Linked DNA regions of Homo sapiens: all the other regions are linked to region 3. The links are contacts of gene promoters, found by promoter capture Hi-C in blood cells and fetal thymus (Javierre and others, 2016). All regions are on one chromosome and are shown on one strand. The core of a region is centred on a gene start or on the middle of the fragment in contact, and the rest is flanking DNA. Distances in the headings are between cores, read along the strand shown.

Region 1 (2,700 bases), core at 84-2,583, 1.1 Mb after region 3:
CCCAGCACTGTGCTGGGGCTCCACACATACAAAATGCCTGTGCCAGCCTCACAACCACCCTGTGGGGAAGGGGTGATGTTCCCCCCACTTCATAGCTGACAGCACGGAGGCTCCGCATACAGAGGGACCTGTCCAGGTCGAACTGAGATCTGTCTGATTCCAAACCCAAACTCTTTCCCATCAGCCATTGGCAGAGAGCACAAGAGAGGACGTGGCCTCACCTTGGCCCCTCTCCTCTTTGCACAGGCTGTCTCTCCTCCTCACCTGTTTTCCCCTCCTCTATTCAATTCCTGCCCAGCCCAAGGCAAGCCTCCTCCAGGAATTCCTCCTTGATGTCTGACAGCCAAACCCCAAGCGTGTTACCCAGCGAGACTGCTGGTTGTTCAATTTGCCAACACAGCTTTAGAGTTTGCTGCAGTGAGTGCAGACGCAAACATGAGCTCATTTCATTCTCTCACCAGGCTCACGAGTATTTGCTGGGCACTGACTTGGAGCCAGGTGCTGCAGGGCTGCAGAGGGTACAGGAACAAACATGCACTGAGCGCCTGCAGATGCCCCTCCCGTGCTCAGGGGAGCCCACATGTCACCCTAGGCAGGATCCTTGCCCCATTTGACAGATGAAGAAACTGAGGCCCAGAGAAGAGGAGGAAGCTGCTCAGGGTCACTCAGTGAGCCAATGGCTGGGATTCAACACTAGGCCAGTCCCCAGATCCACACCCACCGCCCCCCGACACTCCCTGCCCCAGAACCTTTTAAGCTCCCACTGCTGGGGCAGGACTGGCCCTTTGCCCTGGAGCCTCTGGTCATGCAGGTGGGCTCTGTAGCCACAGCCACGCAGGGAGGGGAGGGACAACGTGCAGCCGGCAGGATCCTATGTCACCCCTCGGTGACATGCCCACCTGCTCAGCCCATCCTCCAGCCTGTTCCTCCACCTGGGGGCTCAAAGCCCCTGACCAGCCCCCTGACCACTCACTTCCCCAAACTGTCCAGCTCTGGCTGGAGAAGCAACAGAACATAAATTAATGCATCTTCAGCTCTGGCTCCAAATGATTTTTCTCTCACCTTCCTGGACTGATCCCTCATCAGCTCCATCCTCAGAGAAATATGAGAGGACCCAGAGGGTGGAGGCTGGTCCTAGCCTTGCGGGGACATGGGCCTGGCCCTGGGACTGGTACAGGTTGATAAACCCCATTCCTTGGAGGTGGTGGCAACATGGCTCAGCATGAAAGGTGGGGTCCAGGTGTGTGTGCATGTGCATGTGAGGTCAGCAAAGCCCTCTCTGCTCCCCCAGGCCCTGGACCCAGGCCCTGGGGCTAAGCTAGGGCTGCTGCATGAGTCCCCAGTTTGCTAATGGAGGGGAGGCCTCCCTTGATAATGAGAATCACCTTATGAACTCCCCTGGGCTGCCGCCTCCCAGACTTTATTTTTTCTGACTCAGTCTCAATTTGAAATAAGGAGAGAGAGGCTGAGAGAGAGAAAAATTCCAAGCTGTCACCTTTGGTAGATGCTCCAGAAAAGGAGTCTAAGTCTCACTTGTCACAGGCAGGGAAACCGAGGCTCTAAGAGGGAGCTCAGTGTTTGTACAACCAGTTGGTGGCAGAGCTGGGACAGGCATCGGGACTCAGCAGAGCTCCTGACTGTCAGTGCATGCATGTGAAATGGTGTGTGTGACAGTTAAGGACACAAATGCAGAGTGCGTGAGAACATGTGCCTTAGTCTCAGAGTGTGAGTGTGAGAAACACTTGAGGGCCGTGGCGGTGGCTCTCCCCTCGGGCAACGCCCAGATCCTGTGGGTGACTCCTAGCAGATCTTCTGTGTCCCCAGCCTGTCCTTGCTGGACTCTGAGCTGATGTCCCATTCTAGAAAATTTTCAGCTGCTGGCCAGGAACAGTAGGGAACCCAATTGTTTCTATTTGGTCTTTATTGAATAAAAATGAAATTTAAATTCTTTGCAGGGAGGTAATTTTTCCTAATCACTCACCCTGCTGCACGGATTCCCCACAACTTGATTATGTCTAACTAGATTAATTGTATGGAGAGTGATTTCTTTTCTCTGAGAAAATTAACCACAGAGCAGGGGGGTCATCTGAGCCCCAATGACTCCCTACCCCCAAGAAAGTCCCCAGGGCCCAGGTTCTGGGTGGGGGGGGCTGCCTTGTCCCAAGGCCTCCCTCTGCCTCTCTCCCATCACTGGCTCCTTCTGTCACCAAGTCCCTGTCACCATCTGTCTCTGTCTCCCACTGTCCCTGACCCTCTCCTGGTTTGGGCTTCTGCGGTCCTGACTGCGGGGGAGGCCACCGCCCTGCGCCCCTGCATTAAAGAGGCTGATGTTCTCCATGAGGGGAGGGGAAAGGCACAGTGTGAAGTGCTCAAGTTCACCTTCTGAAGCAGCTTGGGCTGAGGTGAGGGGGTCACATGGACAGCCCCCCAGAGCCCCAGCCAGTGTACCACCAATATCCTGGTTTCCAAAGCCTTTAAACTACATAGAGTTTTACAGTTTGCGTGGGCTGGATGCAGCCTGAGTGCCCACAGAGGGGGCTGCAGGGCCAGGCTGGGCCAGACCAGCTGTGGGGCTCAGGGAGGGCCTGGCTGGAAGAAGGGGGTCTGGGCAGCCCCTCTCTCAGCCTGAGGGAGGCTGAAGGGTCTGCAGTCCCAGTCGCTCCCCCATGGCCAAGCTGGCACTTCCCTCCAACAGGCACA
Region 2 (2,700 bases), core at 7-2,506, 1.2 Mb after region 3:
ATATAGAAGATCTGAACAACAAAATCAACCAGCAAAATCTAATTGACACATATGGGAGAAAAATGTGGTTTTTTTATCCACTCTTCCAATCTCTGCCAACAACACCAGAATACATACTCTTTCAAGCAACCACAGACCATTCATTAAGATAAATTATATACTGGGCTATGAGACAAACATCAAAAAATATAAATGAATTGAAATTATACAGGATATTCTCTGATTATAACAGAACCAAAGTAGAAATCAATAATGGAAAGACAACTGGAAGACCCCTAAACATGTAGAAATTAAACAACACATCTCTTTAAAAATCCATGGGTCAAAAAGAAGGTCTTAAAGGGAATGTTTAAAAAATACATAAAACTGAATGGAAACAAAAATACATCGTATCAAAAATGTATACGATGCAGCCAAAATAGTGCTGAAAGAAAAAAAATTATAGTATTAAATGCCTATGTTAGAAACAAGGAAAGATCTCAGATCAATAATCTAAGTTCTTACCTCAAGACACTAGAAAAAGAAGAGTAAAATAAAGCCAATGCAAGCAGAATTAAGGAAATAACGAAAAGAGCAAAAAATCAATGAAATTGAAAATAGGAAAACAATAAGTAAAATCAATGAAACAAAAAAAGCTGGCTCTTTAAAAAAAATGATAAGATTGATAAACCTTCAGCAAATAAGAAGATACAAGAAAAAAAAACAGGAGACACAAATCACTAATATTGGGGATGAAATAGGGAATATCACTATAGACCATGCAGCTATTAAAAGGATAATAAGAGATTGTATGAACAACCTTATGCTCATAAAATAGAAGAATTGGACCAAATTCTCAAAAACCATAAACTACTAAAGGCAAGCCAAGATAAAATGGGTAATCTGAATAACCCTATAGCCATCAAACAAATTAAATTCATAATGTTTAAAATTTCTGAAAAAGAAATTTTTCAGCCTAAGTGGTTTCACTGGAGACTTCTACCAAATTTTTGAAGAGGAATAAACACCAATATTATACAATTTCTTCAGGAAAATAAATAACATCTATACAAAACCACAGGTGACAAATTATTTAGTGGTCAAATGCTGTATGATTAGCAACAAAAAATACAAAAGATTAGGAAAAATGCAAGGATATGCCTGCTCTCATTTATCTTATTTGACATTGTACTAGAATTTATAGCCACTGCATTAAGGTAAGAAAAACAGATAAAAGGTATATAGTTTGTAAAAGAAGAAATAAAACTATCTCTATTTGCAGATGACACAGTTATCTACATAGAAAATCTCAAAGAATCTAGAAAATATCTCCCAGAGCTAGTAAATGTGTTCAGTAAGTTCTCAGGTTGCGGAGTTAACACACAAAAATTAAGCGTATTTCTCCAAGCTAACAAAATATGCAGAAATCAAATTTTAAAACACAATACCATTTACAGTCACACTAAAGAAAATAATATACTTAGCTATACACTTAACGAAATACATATGGAATCTATATACTGAAAAATATAAAATATTTACAAGAGAAATTTTAAAAGACCGTGTTCATGGTTTTGAGTATTCAACTTAGTAAAGATGTCAGTTCTTACCAAATTGATATACTGGTTTAATGCAATTTGTATCAAAATCCCAGCAGACCTTTTAGTAAACATAGGCGAATTATTCATCAACTTACATGGAAAAATACATGTTCTAGAAAGTTAAATCAATTTTGACAAAGAATATGGAAGGAATCACTCTAGCTGGCATTAAGGCTTACTATTCAACGACATTAATCAAGACACCGTGGTACTAAAAGAGGGATACATACATCCATAGAAAACGAAGAAATAGACCCACACAAACATGTTCAATTGATTTTTGACAAAGGTACAAAGGCCATTCTATGGGGGAAGTTAATCTTATTCACCAAATGGTGCTAGAGCAATTACACATCCATAAGCAAAAGAGGAATCTCAGCACACTTTCTATATAACTAAAAATGAATAACATACATAAATGATAAATGTAAAGCACAAAACCATAAAACTTTTTAGAAGAAAATGTAGGAAAAATCTTCATGACCTAGGGCAAAGAGTCCTTTTTGTTTGTTTTTGTTTCTGAGATGGAGTCTCACTCTCTCTCCCAGGCTGGAGTGCAGTGGTTCGATCTCAGCTCACAGAAACCTTTGCCTCCCAGGTTCAAGTCGTTCCCCTGCCTCAGCCTCCAGAGTAGCTGGAATTACAGGCACCTGCCACCACACCTGGCTAATTTTTGTATATTTAGTAGAGACGGGGTTTCACCATGTTGGCCAGGCTGGTCTCAAACTCCTGACCTCAAGTGAGCCACTCGCCTCAGCCTCCCAAAGTGCTGGGATTACAGGCATGAGCCACAGCACCCAGCTAGAATTCTTAAACACCAAAAGTGTGACCCATAGCAGAAAATAAATTGATAAAGTAGACCTCATTGGAATTTAAAACTGCTTTTGTGAAAGCCTATGTGAGGAGGATTCCTCTGACCATGTAAAAACAGACTTTGTCATGAGGAAGCAGACTTGAGAGACACAAAGTGTCTCCCAAGCAGGGACAGCAGGACTCTCCAGGAAAGGATTCATGGAACTTGATCCAAGCAAGAAGGAAGAGGAAGAATGAAACCTTCTCCCAAGCCACACCTGGACAAGGGTTTTCTTTCAGTTGCTTAACGGAGAAACATTGGAGATGT
Region 3 (2,700 bases), core at 200-2,699:
TGAGCCACCGTGCCCAGCTCTAGCCTGAATTTTAACCATTAAAGTAATACCACATTTGCCCATCCTTTGGAAAATAATCAAACTATTTGCTGGGAATCAAAGAGTTAAAAAGAAGGTACTGCACAAGAGTATGCAGGTGTTTTTTGGTGGAGAGCACTACATAGATCTTAGGTGATTACCACTATGAACTTTGTCTGTACTGTCTCCATTTTTTAAGATGATGAAACCGAGGCTCAGAGAACCTCAGTAACTTGCCAAATGCAAAGCTAGGACAAGGATTTGACCCCAAGTATTTTGATTCCCAGACCTGTGCTTTTGCTTTAGCTCCACTTCAGTGGCCCCAATAGCCCTTCTGAATGGCTATTTATGTGCAGATTTACAATGGTTGGCAACTGACATACTATTTTTATCAACCACGTGCAAAAAGCATGAATTAAGATCCAACAGAATTTTAGGAGGAGGACAAAGTCATAAAAGTAACGAGAAGTTGAATGACTTCTCTAAGACCAAACAGCTACTAAGACGTTGAGCCTGTATTTGACCAAATATAGATACTTGGGTCTGTATGGCACCAAAGCAGCTCTTTTTAACCAAGCCAAGATGCATATACGGTGCAGTGGAGAGAAACATGAGTTTGGAATCAGAAGCCATGGATTCCAGTCTCCTGTTCCAATCACTTATTAGCGGTATCACTCTGGGCAAGTCCCTTGCCCTCTGGAAACAATGATCTATGACCTACTCTTTACTGACACATGAAGATCCAAATGGATGTAAAAGTATTCTGAAAACTTCTTCCAAATAATAATAATAATAGTAAGAACTCACGCAGGTCAGTCAGACATAGGTTGGAATTCTGACCCTGTCACTTACTGGCTGTGTGACCTTGGACGAGTGATTTTACCTCTTCTGCCTCAGTTTTCATCTGCAAAATGGGGATAAATCAATAACTACCCCAAAACATTGTTGTGACAATTAAATGAGAGCATCCATTTAAACAAGGGATTGCCTGACACAATATTCGATCAATAAACATCAGCCATTAATACCCTGATAATTGCCTCTCGGGTCTTCAGCTACCTTCAAGTACGGTCTTTCTGACCTACCAAAAACGCCCTGGGCTTCGGCTTCGGTTTGCTATTCTCTGCCCCCTTCCTCGGACCCTGTCCCTCTCTTCCCAGTCCGCAGCTCGTGTTAAAGCCTTCCAGAAACCCCAGTCCCCTTCCCCGGCTTCGGCGCCGTCTCTTACTCGACGACCTTGGCTGGATCCCCGTGGTGCCCATAGACAAGCGCCCGGACCCGGGCAGGCTCGGCGGATGCGGAGTAGGAGGAGGCGGCAGGTCCGTGACAGCCAGAAGCTGGGAGCAGCCCCCGCCACTGCCGGGCGGGGGTTCGCACCCGCCACAGGGTACTGCAGACCCACATGCTCGCTCCAACCAACACAGAGCCTGACGCCCCGGCTACGTCATCTTCCAGCGACCGCGCGCCTGCGCCCCGCCCCTGCCCCGCCGGGTGACCACTCCCCCTTGGTCCCTTTGAAGGGCGTTTCCTTCCTTCGCTGCCCAAGTGGTGGCGCCTGGCTAGACTGCGTGTGGGCCCCGGAGGGATCCGGGGGTGCGGAGCTTGCGAGGCCGCCAAAGCTGTTGTCTCAACAAGGAGAGTCTGGGGCTAGTCCAAAGTCGTGTCTACAGCCTGCAGTTTGGTGTTTGATTTGGAGGAAATATTTACTCTCCCTGGCCTCAGTTTACCCTTCACATAATATATTGAGTGCTCACCGAGCCAGGCTCTTTAAGGTATTATCTCATTTAATCACCACTACCATGTAACGGCATAGGGAGGCAAAGCTTACTTCCCTACACTGAGGAGAGTACACGAAAGCTGCTGTGGAGGCAGGAGTATGGGGCTTGGAGTTAGAAAACTTAGGTTCAAATCCTAGCCCTGCCACTTCCTAGCTTGGCCACCTTGGGCAGGTGAAACTCTGAATTTTTCTCATCGGTACAATGGGGATAATATGCCTCCTTCCGGATTGTTGTGAGGATTGGATGAAATAATAGAGGAATGCTATTGTGGGTGGGAGAACGCATTGTAAAAAACTCTGTTCAGATGTAAGACAGGAATCACAAGGAGAAGGGTCCTCTCTCAAAATGCTCACAGTGTAGAAAGGGATTAAGTGGAACACTGGAAATGCCTGTAAAAAGGTGTAGCCCTATGAAGGATCTAGTCTGATTTTTGGTGTAGGGAAGACATGAACATTACTAAAACCCCAGATCGAGCTGTGGCTCGTGCCAGAGTGCAATGCTGTAGTCTGAAGAGAAGTGCTCTGGGATGGGGTGGGATGGGGTGGGGGCTCTTGGAGGAGGTGCTGTTAGAGCCAGCCCTGTGATTCAAAATCTTCTGTGTGCATAAAAATAATCCGAGGTCCCATCTTAGACCTACTGAATTAGAATCTTGCGGATGGGGGTTCCAGGAATCTACATCCTTACAAGCTCCCAAGAATATTCTGATGCAGGTGTCCCAGGAAACAGGTTTTAAGATACTGAGCCAGGGCTTTGAAGGATAAGGAAGAGTTCCTTTCCTGGATTTTATTGACTTGAAGCTTGCCATCTCCAAGCCTTTCCTCTGAGGAAGAGAGCACAGCAAAGTACTGTGAGCTAGATTTGGACAAACCTGGCTTTATGTCCTAGCTCTGCCATTTTCCAGCCA
Region 4 (2,700 bases), core at 127-2,626, 1.6 Mb after region 3:
TTTTGTATTTTTAGTAGAGACGGGGTTTCACCATGTTGGCCAGGCTGGTCTCAAACTCCTGACCTCAAGTGATCCACCCGCCTTGGCCTCCCAAAGTGCTGGGATTACAGGCGTGAGCCACCGTGCCCAGCCAAGGGCATTTTAAAAAAATAAATAAATCAAGCACTCGAAGCCTTCTGTAGCTGCCCATTAGCCTCAGGCAGACTCAACTCCAGCCTGCTCCCAGCCCACGAAGCCCTGGGCTGCCCACCTCCCCCAAAACAGCCTTCTGCTAGTTCTCCAAACACAGGCTGCCCCACTCATGGTTGGGGACTTTGCCCCAGCTGTTCACTCTGCCGGTAGAACTTTCCTCCAAGGCATCCACATCCCTGACTCCCCCCTTTCATTAGGGCTTTGCTGTAGAGATGCCCCCTGACTCCTGACCCCTCTGCCACACTCTCCAGTCCCCCACTTCCCTCTCTGCTTCAACTGGGCTTTCATCCTCATATGTCTTCTCAGGATCACCCATGGCCTGCCTGTGGCAGGACCAAATAGCCAAGTGCCTCTGGGTGTAGGCGGCGGCAGCACCTAACACAGGGAGGCTGGGTCTCCTCTCCAGTCCTCAGCAGCTTCGCTCTGGTTTTCCTCCTGCTTCCTGGCTCCTCTGCCGGTGCCTCCTGGCCTCCCTGACCTCCTGGGAGGCTCTGGTCCTGTGCCCCACCCTCACTCCCTCCTTACGTGACCCACGCAGTCTCTGGCTTCCACCACCTTCTCTCTCCCTGACCCACACCTCCAGCCCCAGCCTTTCCCCAGAGCACGGGACTCCTGTGTCCATGCTCACTTCCAGGAGTTCACGCAGCTGAGTGACGGCATCTCGAAATCCACAGGCCCAAACCCAGCCCTGGCGGCCCCTGCCCCAGACCTGCTTTCACGGCACCCCCAACTCTGTGGGTGATGATGCCCCCTTGCTTATCCTCGACCCTGTCTCTCCGACACCCCACGCCTGCAGACCCAGGATCCGACCACTTCCATGGCTCCTGTTGCTGCCACCTCAACCTCCCAACTTCTGCCCTTGTCCCTGCTTCAAAACGCTCCCGTCCTGCCCTCCCCAGTGACCCCCAACTCAGGGTAAAAGGCCAGCAAGTGTGCAGCTGCCCCCCAGCCCTCGGCTGTGACCTCTTGAACCTCTTCCCCTGCCCTTCGCCCCTCACTCCAACCGCTGGGATCTCATTGCCGGTTCTCAAACATTCCAAGCTGGCTCCCAGCTCAGGGCCTGCGCGTTTGCTGTTACCTCTGCCTGGGCCAGACCTGCGAGGCCCACTCCCTCACCTCAAAATATCACTGGATCAGAGAACCCCAAAAAGTGCTCCTCACAATACTCCCCATCTCTTCCCCCAGCTTAATGTCCTTCAGCTCATGCATCCCCAGCTGGTGGCCTCCCCACAAGCAGGCAGCTCCCTGAGAAGGGGGACTATACCTTTTTTGTTCAATGCCAGCACATAGATCATGCCTGGCACACAGGAGGGGCTCCAGAAATGTTGGCTGAGTCAGCGGATGAATGCGCTGAGCTGAGTGTTGAAGGCTACGTGAGTCTGCCAGGCAGGTGGTGGGAGGAGATGTTCCAAGCAGAGGGAACAGCATGTACAAGGCCAAGGCACAAAAGGACATAGCGTGTCCAAGAAGGCAGGGAGTGCTGCTGTGCAGAGCAGAAGGAGGAGGGTCTAGGGCTGGGGAGTTTAGGGCTGCGGAGTCAGCCAGGGAGCCTGGTCATGAAGGGAATGTGCTTGTTCTTCCATTCATTCATTCATTGAATATTTATTAAGCCCTGTGAGAAGTCTTGCTCTTTCCCCATCTAAAGGGATAAGACTTAATCTTGAAGGTACTTGGGAGCCATTGAGAGATGCAGAGAAGGGGCAGCACCTATCACTGCTGGTCACAGGATGGAACCCCAATATGCCCCCGGATCCTCCCCTACCCCCAGGGGGTGCCTGCTAAGCCACTGCTTCCTTTCCAAGGCAGCATTTTGGAGGTCTGGGGAGAGCATGCCCGCCGAGCTTTCTCCTGGCAAGGCCACAGAGCAACTGAGTCTCCACTAGAGTCAGCCTGTCCACCTGTGGCCCCCCTCGATGTGTAAGTCACATGGCCCAGATGGGGGCTGTGAACCTCCAGAGCTGGAAGAACCTCAGAGAATCCAACCCTTCATTTTCCAGACAGGGCAACTGAGGCCCACCAAAGACAAAGGACTTATTCAAGGTCCTGCTGTGTCTTCAGAGGCAACTCTTGTTTGCAAGTGACAAGCACCTGATTCAGACTGGCTTTTTTGAAAGGACGAGGGACTCTGCAAGCATGACCAGGATGTTGAAGAGTGAACTTCAGGTGCGGTTGGATCCAGGCTTACCTTGGGACACATGCTTCCCCTCTGACAAACACTTGCCACAGGTCTGCAGGACTCTCAGTGGCCACGTCTGGGGATAATGTGTCTACTCCTGGAGTGGGGGTGAGGCGGCGGGGGCAGTGTCAGCCCCACATGGCACCCCAGGACTGAGAAGAGGGTGGGACCCCAAAGGAAAATTGGATTTGCTGGCCCAAGAATGGGGGTAACAAAAGCTGATGTCCCCACACCTAGGAGCTTAGGGATAGAACCCAGACCAGATCTCCACCACCCAACTCCAAACCCAGCACCTATCCCACGTCCCCAGACTCCCTCAGGAAGACAAACTA

What was found. The method cuts DNA at HindIII sites, captures the fragments that hold promoters and counts their contacts. A CHiCAGO score of 5 or more calls a contact.
Region 1: a contact is called between a fragment that was not itself captured here and the fragment with the promoter of MECR in region 3, in 1 of 17 cell types (activated CD4 T cells). The highest score is 5.3, in activated CD4 T cells.
Region 2: a fragment that was not itself captured here is called in contact with the fragment with the promoter of MECR in region 3 in 2 of 17 cell types (activated CD4 T cells and non-activated CD4 T cells); the score reaches 7.1 in activated CD4 T cells.
Region 4: a fragment that was not itself captured here is called in contact with the fragment with the promoter of MECR in region 3 in 6 of 17 cell types (naive CD4 T cells, non-activated CD4 T cells, naive B cells and 3 more); the score reaches 12.1 in naive CD4 T cells.

Annotation. Positions count from the first base shown.
Region 1 is chr1:30,359,255-30,361,954 of GRCh38, forward strand. No RefSeq gene overlaps it. Among named protein-coding and RNA genes, the nearest start is that of LINC01648, 320 kb to the left of the region's middle. The HindIII fragment of the contact is 6,766 bases long and covers 1-2,700 here.
Region 2 is chr1:30,392,933-30,395,632 of GRCh38, forward strand. No RefSeq gene overlaps it. Among named protein-coding and RNA genes, the nearest start is that of MATN1-AS1, 320 kb to the right of the region's middle. The HindIII fragment of the contact is 7,712 bases long and covers 1-2,700 here.
Region 3 is chr1:29,229,485-29,232,184 of GRCh38, forward strand. It overlaps MECR (mitochondrial trans-2-enoyl-CoA reductase), which reads right to left and starts at 1,450. Exons shown (of 10, transcript NM_016011.5): 1 at 1,247-1,450. The coding sequence starts at 1,422. RefSeq lists enhancers at 826-1,326, 1,327-1,827, 1,352-1,461. The HindIII fragment of the contact is 2,647 bases long and covers 1-1,839 here.
Region 4 is chr1:30,787,166-30,789,865 of GRCh38, forward strand. No RefSeq gene overlaps it. Among named protein-coding and RNA genes, the nearest start is that of LAPTM5, 31 kb to the left of the region's middle. RefSeq lists an enhancer at 706-1,218. The HindIII fragment of the contact is 4,549 bases long and covers 1-2,700 here.